Linked DNA regions of Homo sapiens: region 1 is linked to region 2. The links are contacts of gene promoters, found by promoter capture Hi-C in blood cells and fetal thymus (Javierre and others, 2016). All regions are on one chromosome and are shown on one strand. The core of a region is centred on a gene start or on the middle of the fragment in contact, and the rest is flanking DNA. Distances in the headings are between cores, read along the strand shown.

What was found. The method cuts DNA at HindIII sites, captures the fragments that hold promoters and counts their contacts. A CHiCAGO score of 5 or more calls a contact.
Region 1: a fragment that was not itself captured here is called in contact with the fragment with the promoter of E2F5 in region 2 in 1 of 17 cell types (M0 macrophages); the score reaches 5.4 in M0 macrophages.

Annotation. Positions count from the first base shown.
Region 1 is chr8:84,643,297-84,649,824 of GRCh38, reverse strand. All of the region lies in intron 2 of RALYL (RALY RNA binding protein like), which reads right to left. Among named protein-coding and RNA genes, the nearest start is that of LRRCC1, 460 kb to the left of the region's middle. The HindIII fragment of the contact is 1,382 bases long and covers 746-2,127 here.
Region 2 is chr8:85,173,523-85,179,845 of GRCh38, reverse strand. It overlaps E2F5 (E2F transcription factor 5), which reads right to left and starts at 2,692. Exons shown (of 8, transcript NM_001951.4): 1 at 2,192-2,692. The coding sequence starts at 2,425. It overlaps E2F5-DT (E2F5 divergent transcript), which reads left to right and starts at 2,805. Exons shown (of 3, transcript NR_134311.1): 1 at 2,805-3,015. RefSeq lists silencers at 1,832-2,221, 2,232-2,761 and an enhancer at 2,862-3,031. The HindIII fragment of the contact is 15,711 bases long and covers 1-6,323 here.

The DNA.
Region 1 (6,528 bases), core at 187-2,686, 530 kb after region 2:
TGACTTTCGTCACAGAATTGGAAAAAACTACTTTAAAGTTCATATGCAACCAAAAAAGAGCCCACATCACCAAGTCAATCCTAAGCCAAAAGAACAAAGCTGGAGGCATCACACTACCTGACTTCAAACTATACTACAAGGCTACAGGAACCAAAACAGCATGGTACTGGTACCAAAACAGAGATATAGATCAATGGAACAGAACAGAGCCCTCAGAAATAACGCCGCATATCTACAACTATCTGATCCTTGACAAACCCGAGAAAAACAAGCAATGGGGAAAGGATTCCCTATTTAATAAATGGTGCTGGGAAAACTGGCTAGCCATATGTAGAAAGCTGAAACTGGATCCCTTCCTTACACCTTATACAAAAATTAATTCAAGATGGATTAAAGACTTAAACGTTAGACCTAAAACCATAAAAACCCTAGAAGAAAACCTAGGCATTACCATTCAGGACATAGGCATGGGCAAGGACTTCATGTCTAAAACACCAAAAGCAATGGCAACAAAAGCCAAAGTTGACAAATGGGATCTAATTAAACTGAAGAGCTTCTGCACAGCAAAAGAAACTACCATCAGAGTGAACAGGCAACCTAAAAAATGGGAGAAGATTTAAATAAATTTTAGAAAGTTAAAGATTAACATGGTCTATAACCTGAAGGGATTTATAGAAGAGTTTTGGTGACAACATATGCAATCCTTATGTGAACCTAATAAATGAGTGAATATGATTAATAAGCTTTTTATAAAAATAACACAAAGGGAGGGAGGTCTTGAGAATAAGATATCACTGTGAGAAATTCATTTAACAAATATTTACTCTATGAATGAGCACCATGTGGTGTTATGCTTAAAGGGATGATAGATAAATAAGACTATCATTTTCCCTCCAGAAGAAACAACTCCAAAAGATTTGGTGAGAAAATCTTCTCAGATAGGTAGATGGAACCACCATGTGTTCCCTGTATCACTTTTGTTAAGATATTATAGTATTATTTAAATTTTATATATACATATATAAATAATACACATACATATTCATAATTCAACTTAATGCATTGAATATAAATTCAAATAATATATTAATAATTTCATCAAAATGCTTAAGACATCCTTTTTATGATTAGAAAACATGAGAATTAAATATTTTCCTCTTTTGAAATTTATACATTTAAATATTTTAATAAGATGTATAATGATTTATTCCATGCATAGTAATGTGGATATACTCTAAAGTTTTAGATTTTTCTTATGTTAATAGTTCACCCGTGTGAAAAATGTTTAGCATGGCCAGGGAAAAGGAATCAGAATCATTGGACAAAAGATTATCTTCAGCAAACTAATTCTAGCCTTGCAGTGAAAAGCAACCCTCTGGCACCATCTACTGACTGCATTGCTTTACTTTCTAATCAAACCACATGCAAATTAGTACTGAATGAATAAAACATAAACTTTTCTTCCTCATTTTTTGTTTATGATGGGGAGCTTGAGCCATGGATGCTGACAGCAGTTGATGAATTAAGATAAACTGGCAAATTTATGTGGCACCTGTGGAATCTGATGTTTTCTAATTGCTAATGAAAACTTGCTTTAATGTGTCTGCAGGAGTCTACCTCCACAGGTGATATACTGGAATGTTTAATCAGAGACCAAAATGATCTTTGCCAGAATGAAGCGGCAATGTCGTGTGTGTGTGTGTGTGCACGCATGTGCGCACATGCTCAAGCATTTACACTCTGCTGGAGAGTCCCTAACACAATATTCTGTGGTACTAACTTTAAACCTGGACATTGAAAAGACAGCTATGCAAAGAGCACCCATTACCTACTACTGTATAGGGAAATACTTTGACATGGACCATTTAATGTAATCCTTCCCCAAATTACAGATGAGAAAATTAGGTACAAAATGATTAAGCACCTTGCACTAACTCACATCTTCCAGGATTTTCATTCAAATGTCACTTTTTCAGTAAGCTCTTTCATAGCTGTCTTGCCTAAAATTCTGAACATCTCTCCAGCACTCGTTATCCTTCTTTCCTGTTTAATAATGATCACCATAACATACTGTGTCTTTTACTTACATATTGTTTCTTGTGTATCTCCCTCCATGGAATGTAAGCTTCATGACACCAGGAGTTTTATCAGTTCTCTTCAAGGGAAAGGTAAATACTAGAGATAATAAATTGAGTCCACAAAGACCTATCATTCTCTCACACTAGAAGATTCTTTTGTGAGCTCCAAAACTGCATATTCTGGGTTATATTTCATTATAGGTTAACTTAATAAAATCTCTTTATGAATTGCAACATTATGTTGTGAAAAGAACACAAGGTGTGAAATCATGTAGATAGATTTGAATACCACCTTCTCCAATTTCTATCTTCAGGCATGTTTATTCAGTCCTTACAAATACACATCACCCTCTTACTTCTCTGACCTTTCATCTTACTCTTCTTTTCCATATTCACCTGCACATCCATAGTCCAGCTCCCCTCATTTCTGTTCCGCAAACATGCCAGAGATGCTTACACCTCAAGACCATCATGCTGTTTCCTCTGCCTGAAATGCATCCCCATCCAATATCCCACTGCACAACTTTCTAATCCTTTTCAAGGCTTTGTTTAATATAACTTTCTCATTAACATCTTCTCTGTTCACCTCCAGATCTTAAAGACCTATAGGCTTGGAGAACAAGGTTGGCGTCCTGAGCTTGAATCTCCCCATTGATCCTTCTCCCAAAAAACTATAAAACCAACAAGGGGAACAAACAAAACCACAGATGATTCACACATCCAGGAGCACTAGGAAGTATTTCCATTGCCTGTGGGTGTGGAGAAAGAAGGAGAGGAAACTTAAGAACTAAAAAAGAGTAGGATTCTAGATGAATTAGATAAAACACAAACAAAATCATCATCAAAGTGAGAAAGTTCAATACAAATACCAAAATGCTGAACACAGGTCAGAACTTGGTGGTTCCTAACACTGGGTTTAGCGAAAGTAAGTGGTGCCAGAAGTGGCAACAGCAGGGAGTTATTGACAGTAGATGGAAGGGGGAAGTCAGATGTATGAAGTTGGAAAGGAAAGAAACAAAGAAAACAAAAAGGAATAAAACACTCCAATCCCTCCGCCCACAACACTGCAATCAAAACACCATTCATAAAAGAAATTACACAGATTTGGGCTGAACTGAAAGAAGTGGGCACTCTCAATTTATGAAGAGTATAGCCATAGAAAAAAAATCAGACCACATCCACACACAACTATTTTGAAAAATCACTTAAATTGAATTGACGCATTTCAGCTGATGAAAATTTTTCCCATAAAACCAACCAAAGAACTTAAGAGACCTATAATACAATCCCCCAAACTAAATTAAATATCCTCAAATGAGCATTTGGAAATTTTTTCAAAGTATGCTGAATTAGAAAGATAAACACTGAAAGCAGCAAAGGACAAAAACAGGAAGAAATAAAATGAGAATCAATTGAACCCAAGAAAGAAATAAAAAAATTAAATATCAGAATTGAAAAGTAAGTTACAAAATGACCAAAAATATGAATTCAAATGACAATTTTATAAAGGGTATTGAATAAAGAGAAAAACAACCAGGGTAATGTAAATGACATTTTTATTTAAAAAAAAATAAAAGAAAAAGGGTCAGAGAGAAGATGCTTGAAATGGAAGCTAAGTAAAGGATGTCCGAGATTTGCATATCTGGAGCCTTTCACTAAGAAAACCAAAACCATGAAAGAGAACTAATATTTAAAACTATAGGTCAAGGAAACTTTCCAGAAAACAAAAGAAGACCTGAATCTGCATCTTGAAAGGATGTATTAAGGAAAATTGAACTGGTGTGAGCAATTCCAAACCATACTCAAGTAAAACTATTAGACTTAAAAAAACATAAAGTATCCTCAGGGTCTCCAGGAAATGAAATGACAAGGTACAAAAGCATGAGAATAGACAGGCAATCAGACCTCTCAAAAATAAAACCAACATGAAGCAGAAGTTTCAAGAAATTTAGAAATTCTGACATCAGCTAAGTCCTTGAAGTGTGAAAGGAATAGAAAAAAGTTTTGAATGTGCAAAACACACACTTATGTGTCCTTTCAAAGGAATCTGCTAGAGGATGAGCTTCATCCAACCAAGTCTGACCAAAGGACTGGGGGTATTTCATATTTTTACTAGCAGACCTAAGACAAAGAACTGAGACTACAAAGTCTTAATCTTGGGTAAAAGAATAATATGTAAACATAATATATTCTCACAAAAATAAAACTTAAAAAAGAAAACATGGAAAAGGAGAAAGGAAAGTAGAATCATTTCATTAACTATTGTCCATGTCTTAGATAGGATTTGAAAGATACCAATTAAAATTGACAGAAGAGATTGTAAAAATTTTAAAATGGAGAAAACAGAAACAGAAAAATTAAGATTACTATATAAAATATTAAACCAAAAATAACCACTAGAGCTGGAATAGAAATCTTCATAAATATAGTATAAATATATAGTATAAACAAGTTAAAATGTAGTATAAACAAGTTAAATGATGTAAACAACAACAAAAACACAACATAGTGGGGGGAAAACACAGTAAAAATAATATATTCAGTAATTACAACATAAGATACCATGACAATTGAGACCCAACATATTAGTCACATCCTAAATGTGATTAGGATGTATTCATTTAATAATAATAATAAAATTTCAATTTGGCTTATAAAGCAAAACTGAATTCTATGCTATACACAAAGGAAAAACTTGGCCAGGTGCAGTGGCTTATGCCTGTAATCCTAGCATTTTGGGAGGCTGAGGGATGTGGATCACTTGAGGCCAGGAGCTCAAGACCAGTCTGGCCATCATGGGGAAACTGTCTCTATTAAAAATACAAAAATTAGCTGGGTGTGGTGGTGCATACCCGTAATCCCAGCTACTCAGGAGACTGGGGCACAAGAATCGCTTGAACCTGTGAGGTGGAGGTTGCAGTGAGCCAAAATTGAACCACTGCACTCCAGCCCGGGCAAGAGAGCAAGACTCTGTCTCAAAAAAATAATAAGAAGAAGAAAAAAAGAAAAAAAAAAGACAAACTTGGAACACAATGATTCAAAAAGCTAAACATAAAGGAATGAGCAAAGGTTTAACAGACAAGATAATACACAGGAAGGCAGGGATGGAATCCTGTTGCAGATAAAGTAGAATTTAAGCCAGAAACATGACATGAGTAATATTGCTACACTTTCCCTGCTGTCACTCCAGCAGTCAGATCTTCCTTACACTGTTCTACCTTTTCTTTTTTCTAAAGAATGTATCAAGTTCTAACATATAATTTTAATTACTAATTTCTTATGTCTTGTAATAAATGAGAAGTTTCTTATTAGAATGTCAGTCCACGAGGATAGGAATTTTATCCATTTTAAAATTAGTAATACCAAATTTCTAGAATAAAGCCTAGCTCATACAAGATGTTCAATATTTGTTAAGTGTATGAATAATAAATTTAACCTGTTTTGTTACCTGTGAAATGGGAATAATAATGTCATTGTTTTAGGCTAAAGAGTCTAGCCTAAAAGTGCATTTTAAAACTTTTCCCCCTTTTCCCTTTTTTCCCTAGTCTCAAAATGTAACCCTTAAGCATATTGTGGAAACCTTTTCTTCTCCTCTTTAGTCTTAAGCTATAGCCTTGAAATATACTTTCTTTGAAACACCACATGCCTCTCTCACCATACACTCCCTTACACCATGCACATTTATCTAACTGTATACTTTTACTCATTATCAGCTTATTTAGAAGTCCCAGGTGCTAGCCTTAAAACAGACCATGCCTAGAGACCCATCTGCAAGTTTCCAGAGATTACATGAAGGCTGTTATCATCAATCTGGCTATTGCTGAGATGATGCCAGCCTGCATTTCAGGAGGATCATGGCTAGAAACAGCCACTGGGACAAGATATACAGACCTCGTACTCAGTACCCTTCCCACATGCCTCCCATTCCAAGTTCCTCTTTTTAAACCCCTATCCCTAACGTATGAAGTGGTTACTTTGGATGTGAATGTGGCTACTTCTCCATTATTAGTTTTAGTAAATAAATTCACTTAGTTTTTATTATACCTCACTCTTGTTACTGGGCTCTGCAAGCAGCAAGTGGCCAGATCTGCATTTAGTTACAATTTTGGTGGCCCATATGGGGATTGCTGTGTGCTCCGGAGTCTCCAGCCTGCCAGTCTAATTTCTGTATGATGGGGCATAGGGATGCCTGTGAATGCTGGCTGCTCATGGCTGACCCCATGGCTGGAACGTTAGGGAATTTCTCTGCAGCTGCCAAGATGCTTTTGTCTTGTGGATCCTCTTTCTCTTCCTGCTGCAGTGCCTGCTGCCTTCAATGCTTCTCTGGTGCAAAGAAAGTGACCACTGGAGAAGTCAACAAACTTTGGAACTAAGTGAGTTAGTTGGAATGCACTCAACTATCCTCTGCCTCTTTTAGGTTGTCACTGGGGCTCTTCTCTATTTAGACTCG
Region 2 (6,323 bases), core at 1,443-3,942:
TACTAAAATTACAAAAAAATTAGCTGGGTGCGCTGGCGGGCGCCTGTAGTCCGAGCTACTCGGGAGGCTGACACAGGAGAATGGCGTGAACCCGGGAGGCGGAGCTTGCAGTGAGCCCAGATCGCGCCACTGCACTCCAGCCTGGGCGACAGAGCAAGACTCCGTCTCAAAAAAGAAAAAAAAAAGATTTTTACATATATAAGTATATATAAATAAATGAAAAATATACGTAAAATACATAAAACATATGTTTTTCATACATATATATGAAAACTAAAGACATTCAAACTCTTTTCTAGGAGTATGAAGTCATTAATATAATGAGACAGTGTTATTGTAGAAACCTTTGAATTTTTAGGAGAGTTCCAGAATGAATAAAGCAATTATTGTCATGAAATACCAAACTTTACATCCTACTCACTGCCTCTGTGACTTCTGTAGGGCAATTATATAGCCACAGATGAAACAGGAGGAAGCTAAAGAATTTCAAGTCAAGAAAGGGCAAAGTTCCACCATATCCTGAGGCAAGCTGAGGGAGAAGCCCTCAAAGTCCAGCCGTCAGAGTTCAGTTTTACCTGGAAAACCCCAAACTTCCCTGATTTTCTTACACCAAAGTCACAGGCTACAGCTGAATTTCTAGATTTTGAACAGCAGTTTGCCACCTGTGCTTTGTAACATTCCTGGCTTTCTCTGATAACTTCATGACTTCCTGTGAAATTCTTTAAACAGAATCCATTTTAATTCACTACAATTTAAATACTACACATGCCATAAATCACTTTCAGGGAGAGAAAGGAAGAAGGGGCTGTGGTGGAAAAAAGAGAACAAGGAATTTCCAGAGGTGGGAAAAAAATTCCAGGAATAACATATCAAAAAGAAAATAGTAGAAATTACTTACCAAAATGCAAAATATGTGCAGCATGCCTCAGTTGTATGAAGTTGAACAATTTAGGTAATTCAGTTCAACAATCACTGATTGAACACCAACTACATCCAGGGAAAGGAGAGGGCACTGAAAAGATCTACTTCCCCTTGGGCTACACTGGAGGAGGGCCTCTAGCAGAAGAGTTGGCCCCTGCAAGTCTTGGTCCTTACATTCAGGGAGCTGCCACTGCTTTATGCAGAGCCTTGAGGATGCAGTGACACTCTCAAGCCAGGTAAGGTGGTCCAGGCACTCCCCTGGGAGCTGGGGCCAATCCTCCAAGTAAGGCCACATTTAGGGAGTCAAAGGGGATTTGCAGTGATTATTGGGCAGTTAGTGTTTTTTGTTTGTTTGTTTCTAAAACTTTAGTTCTTAAACTTCGCGCGGAGTGACCACATTCTCATTATCCTGAGCGCTGTTGAATTCTTCCAAATCCTTCCTAGATCGGTTAAGTCATTCTGTATGACAGAACAGCTTTTGATGCCTGCTCCTGTTTGAAAAATCTGAACGCTGTAAAGGACGACGCAGGGAGAGAGTTTACTGAGCACTTCCACCTCTTTGGGTGAAAGTTGTAAAATATCCCCTTTTCGTGTGACAGCAGATCTCACTTTTGGAAACCCATGACACATGCCAAATGAAGTCACAAATCAAATACCCCTCCTAACTATCAGGGTGATGAAAGAAGTGCACAAGGAAGATTTAATACTATTTTATCGGGGAGGGGCGTGGAAAGAAGTACTCTTTTTTTTTTTTCTTTCATCTGGTAGAGATGGCAGACTGGGTTTTGTTTTTCCTCCTTTTTATTTAAACTACAGGAACATGGTTCCAACTGGAATCGCCTATTAAAACCATCCATTCTTAACAGCAAAATCGATATCCACGGTGTCTCCGGGCAAAGCGCCCGTTACCCCGTGAGCCTCTGCCACAGGTGGACGCAGAGCAACAGACACTCGGTTACCCTCAGGTCCCTGCGCCCGGAGACAGAAGCCACGCGGGCGCGCTCGAGGTCCTGGGCTCTTTGTCGAGAGCCCAGCGTGGCGCCGGGCCCCATTGGTTACGCGTCCGCTCGGTGCCATCCTGGTCCCTCGTCCCTCCCCCATCCCGGCGTCCACGACCCGGGCGCAGGCCACATGGTCCTCGGATTGCCCGGTCCCGGGTCCCCGCAAGGCGCGTCTACACCACGCCGCTAGACCCACGCGGCGAGGGGCTGGGCTTCCCCGGGGGCCACGGGTTCCGAAGTCCGCCCCCGTCCCCGCCTCCGGAGCTCACCGCTTTGAGATCCAGAACGCCGTCCTTGGCCTCCTGCAGCAGCGACACGAACTTGGTAGTGAGCAGCCCCAGGCTCTTCTCGTGCCTGCTGCTGCCGCCCCCGGCGCCCCCGAGCTGCGGCGGCGGGGGCGGCTGCGGGGCTTGCGCCTGCGGAGGCTGCGGCGGCGGCCGCTGGCCCTGCCCCTGCCCTGCCGGCGCCTGCTGGCCCGAGCTCGCGGGCTCTGCCGCCGCCATCGCGTCCCGGCCCCGCGGTGGTCGGGCCCCCGCGCACTTTCGCTCGCCGGCCCCGCCCGCGGCCACCTGCCGGGTCGGCTCCGCTGCGGCCGCTTCCCCGCCCGCCGAGAGCGGTAGTGCGGGTCGCTGGCTGCTGCAAACAACAGGTGTGCGGCGCCCACGGGAGTCTGGGCCGCTTGTCACGCCGGGCCTCCGCCCCCTCCCCAAGCCCGGGGAAGCGTGAATGAGGCCCACGACCGAGGGGGGAGGGGTGGAAACGAGGAGAAGGGGCTGCGAGGGGTGGGGACCTGAGTTTAAATGGCAGGAAGTGACGCCGCCGCCCGCCGTTGCCTAGAAACACATTTTTCTGTAGGAAGGAGGAGCGCACGAGGAGGAGGAGGGGTGTTGGCGCGTGTGTTTCACACTCGCCTCCCTGGCGTTCGCGAGCTGACCCGAGGAGTGGTAATCTCACGCGGCAAAGCAGGGAGGAAGAAAAAAAGGAGACAAAAGAAAAAAAGACTTTTATCTGGGCAGAAAGTCACAATGCCTAGCGGCCAAACGTTTGTGAGCGGTGAAGTTGGTTGACTGCTCAAGTTTGCAGAGCTTCAGCAGTAGGTTACTTTCTCTGGACGGTTTCTGCTATCTTTGCTCTTTTCGAGCTCTAGCATCGTTTGCAAATATTTCAATGACTTGGACCAAGTGCAGAGTTTTACTTCATAGCTCACCCTTTTAGATTCGGAGTACAGAAAAAGGCATCGTGGAGTTTTAGGGTTGGTTTTCATCAATCCTTTCCAAGGCCTTTACTTTCTACATGGAGAAACGTGTAGAGGGAGAGGTTGTGAATTGCCAAAGACATGCCGTTAGATTCCAGATCTCCTGTGTTTGACCAAAGTTCTTGACCAAAGTTCTTAATATCTTATTTGAACCAAATTATATTGTATTTGGAATATTGGGTAGCCACAGGCCCTTGGACTTCAGTGATATTCCAAACTATTGATGGCAAATGACATTATGGAGATCTGAGTAAAAGAAAGTCGTTGGGATTTTTTCCTCATTATATTACAAACTCTTGAGAATCCAGACTAAATTTTAAATGACTTGTTGTCACACTCAACACTTTGAATATAGTAGACAATAAAGATTAGGCGAATGAGACCAGGCGCGGTGGCTTACGCCTGTAATCCCAGCACTTTGGGAGGCCGAGGCAGGCAGATCATTTGAGATCAGGAGTTCGAGACCAACCTGGCCAACATGGTAAAACCCCGTCTCTACTAAAAATACAAAAATTAGCGGGGGGTGGTGGTGCCCGCCTATAGTCCCAGCTACTCCAGAGCCTGAGGCAGGAGAATCTCTTAAACCCAGGAGGCAGACGTTGCAGTGTTGCAGTGAGCCGAGATGCCACCACTGCACTTCAGCCTGGGCAACAAAGCAAGACTCTGTCTCAAATAAAAAAAAAAAAGATTAGGTGAATGAAAATTCTATATGGCAATAATTAATCAAGAAGATTTCATGCAAGAAAGATTTTGCTTAATTTTAAGTAACAATAAACTAACAAAAAAGGTCACTGAAGCGACATCAAATACAACAGCATTAACTAGTAAAGCTGAACACACCATTTATAACACATCATAGGCACAGAACTTTATAACCTTTATTAATAACCTATTCATAATAACCTTTATTTTAATCAAATCTATAAACAAAACTTAAAATTGAAAATCTGAAGTAAAACATGAAAAATTCAGTTGATACAACCATTTTCCAACAACCTATCCAAGAAAGGCTATCTTTATTTGATTTGACATGGGACACATCATTGACAAGTTTTGCAAATTTATTTTATTGATTATTGTCAAGTAGTATTTCTTAGAACATACTGAATTAGGAAGATTCTAATTTGTTTTTAACTTTATAACAGAACATTGTGTTATATGTGCAGGGACAGGAATTAATAACACTAAATGTATTAATATTTTTAAAACTTACACTTCTATGGTGTCTTAGTTTGAGAAAGTACCATAAACTGGGTGACTTAACGGAAATTAATTTTCTCACAGTTCTGGAGGCTGCAAGTCGACGATCAGGAGGCTGCCATGGCCAGGTTGTGGTGAGGGCCCCCTTCTTGGCTGTCAGATTGTGGCTTTCTCATTGTGTCAAATGGCAGAGAGAGAGAGAAAGACAGACAGAACAGAGACAGCATAAGCTCTCAGATTTCTTATAAGGGCACTAATTCCATCTGAGGGCTCAATCTTCACGATTTCATCTAAACCTAATCACCTCCCAAAGGCCCGAGGGTTAGGGTTTCAACATACAAATGTTGGGGAGATATAGTTCATCCCATGGCATGTAATCATATTTTATAGTAGCTATCTTGGTAATTTTTAAAAACAATATTTTTTAAATTTCAGCTTTAAAAGGTTTTCTACAAAGCAATTATATTATTAGTGATTCTAAAAGGTCAATTAACAATTTATTTTGCACTGTTATTTGTGTTTTTCACAATGAATTTTTTATCTCTTTAGATTGCCTGGGGTTCAATTAGAAATTATTCACAAATTAGCAGCCATTTTAATTAGCATTCAAAATCTTATGTCTGTCTGAAGAGCTAAAAATCGCTTATACCAGTGGTTCCCAGACCTTAGGGGAAAAAATCATCTACAATGTTTGTTAAAAATCTAGATGCTTGGATCCAAACCCCAGGGATCAAATTAGCATTTGATATGAGAATATGACCTGTGAGTCCACATTTTTCACAGTTCAGATAATTCTCATGCACAACATAGTCATTCTTTGAGAAACGCCAAATAGCACAATGAAAAATAATGCAATATATATTTTTCCTAAAAATCGACAAAAAACAGAGATTGATAATGCAAAAGTTTTTTAAATATTGCTAAATGTTTTTAAAAATTCTATTTTTTAAAAAAACTAAGAAACATGATTTTTTAAAAGTTATGATACAAATAATGTTTAAGAACATGATATTGATCAGTTTTGTAATTTAACTTTTATTTCTGTATCCTTTTGACTATAAAGGAGATAACTCTCAAAAGGCTGTAAATTCCTACATCAGTTCTTTGTGCCATTTCTGACAAAGGCTTAAAAATTATTTCCAACAAAAGTCAAAGCTGGCTGAGTGCTCACGCCTGGCTGGGCACTCACGCCTGTCTGTAATCCTAGCACTTTGGAGGGCTGAGAGAAGAGGATTGCCTGAACCCAGGAACTCAGGACCAGCCTGGACAACATGGCAAAACCCCATTTCTACAAAAACTACAAAAATTAGCTGGGCGTGGTAGTGCACACTTGTAGTCCCAGCCACTAGAGAGGCTGAGGTGAGAGGATCACTTGAGCCCAAGAGGTCAAGGATGTAGTGACCTGTCATCCTGCCACTGCAATCCAGCCTGAGTGACAGAGTGAGAATCTATCCTAAAAAAAAAAAAAAAAAAAAAAATCCAATTGAACTAAACTATATTTCATTGACCTATAAGGGTAATAAATGCATAACAGTAATCCTTCATTAAATTCAATTTACGCTGATTAGTTGGGTAGATACTATTTTCAATTATAATATTGTTTATATGCCCCTGGTTAAATTTTCTTTTTTTAAATGCATTTTGGAAGTGCAGCTCCTTAGCTAGTTCAGGACTAAGAAGGAAGGCTTAAATATTTCAAAACAGAATGATTTCTTAGTCCACAGCTCATTAAACTTATAGTATCTAACATTTGTGGAATTTCACAAATGCCATTTTTATAGAGATTCAGGATCAATTTAAAATATGCACAGTTTTGTCATAATCTGGTAGTTAAATATTTAAGAAAATCCAACAAAATTTTACTTGTTTATTGATGATGACAGACTGACTTTTTTTTTTTTTTTTGAGATGGAGTTTTGCTCTTGTTGCCCAGGCTGGAGTGCAAT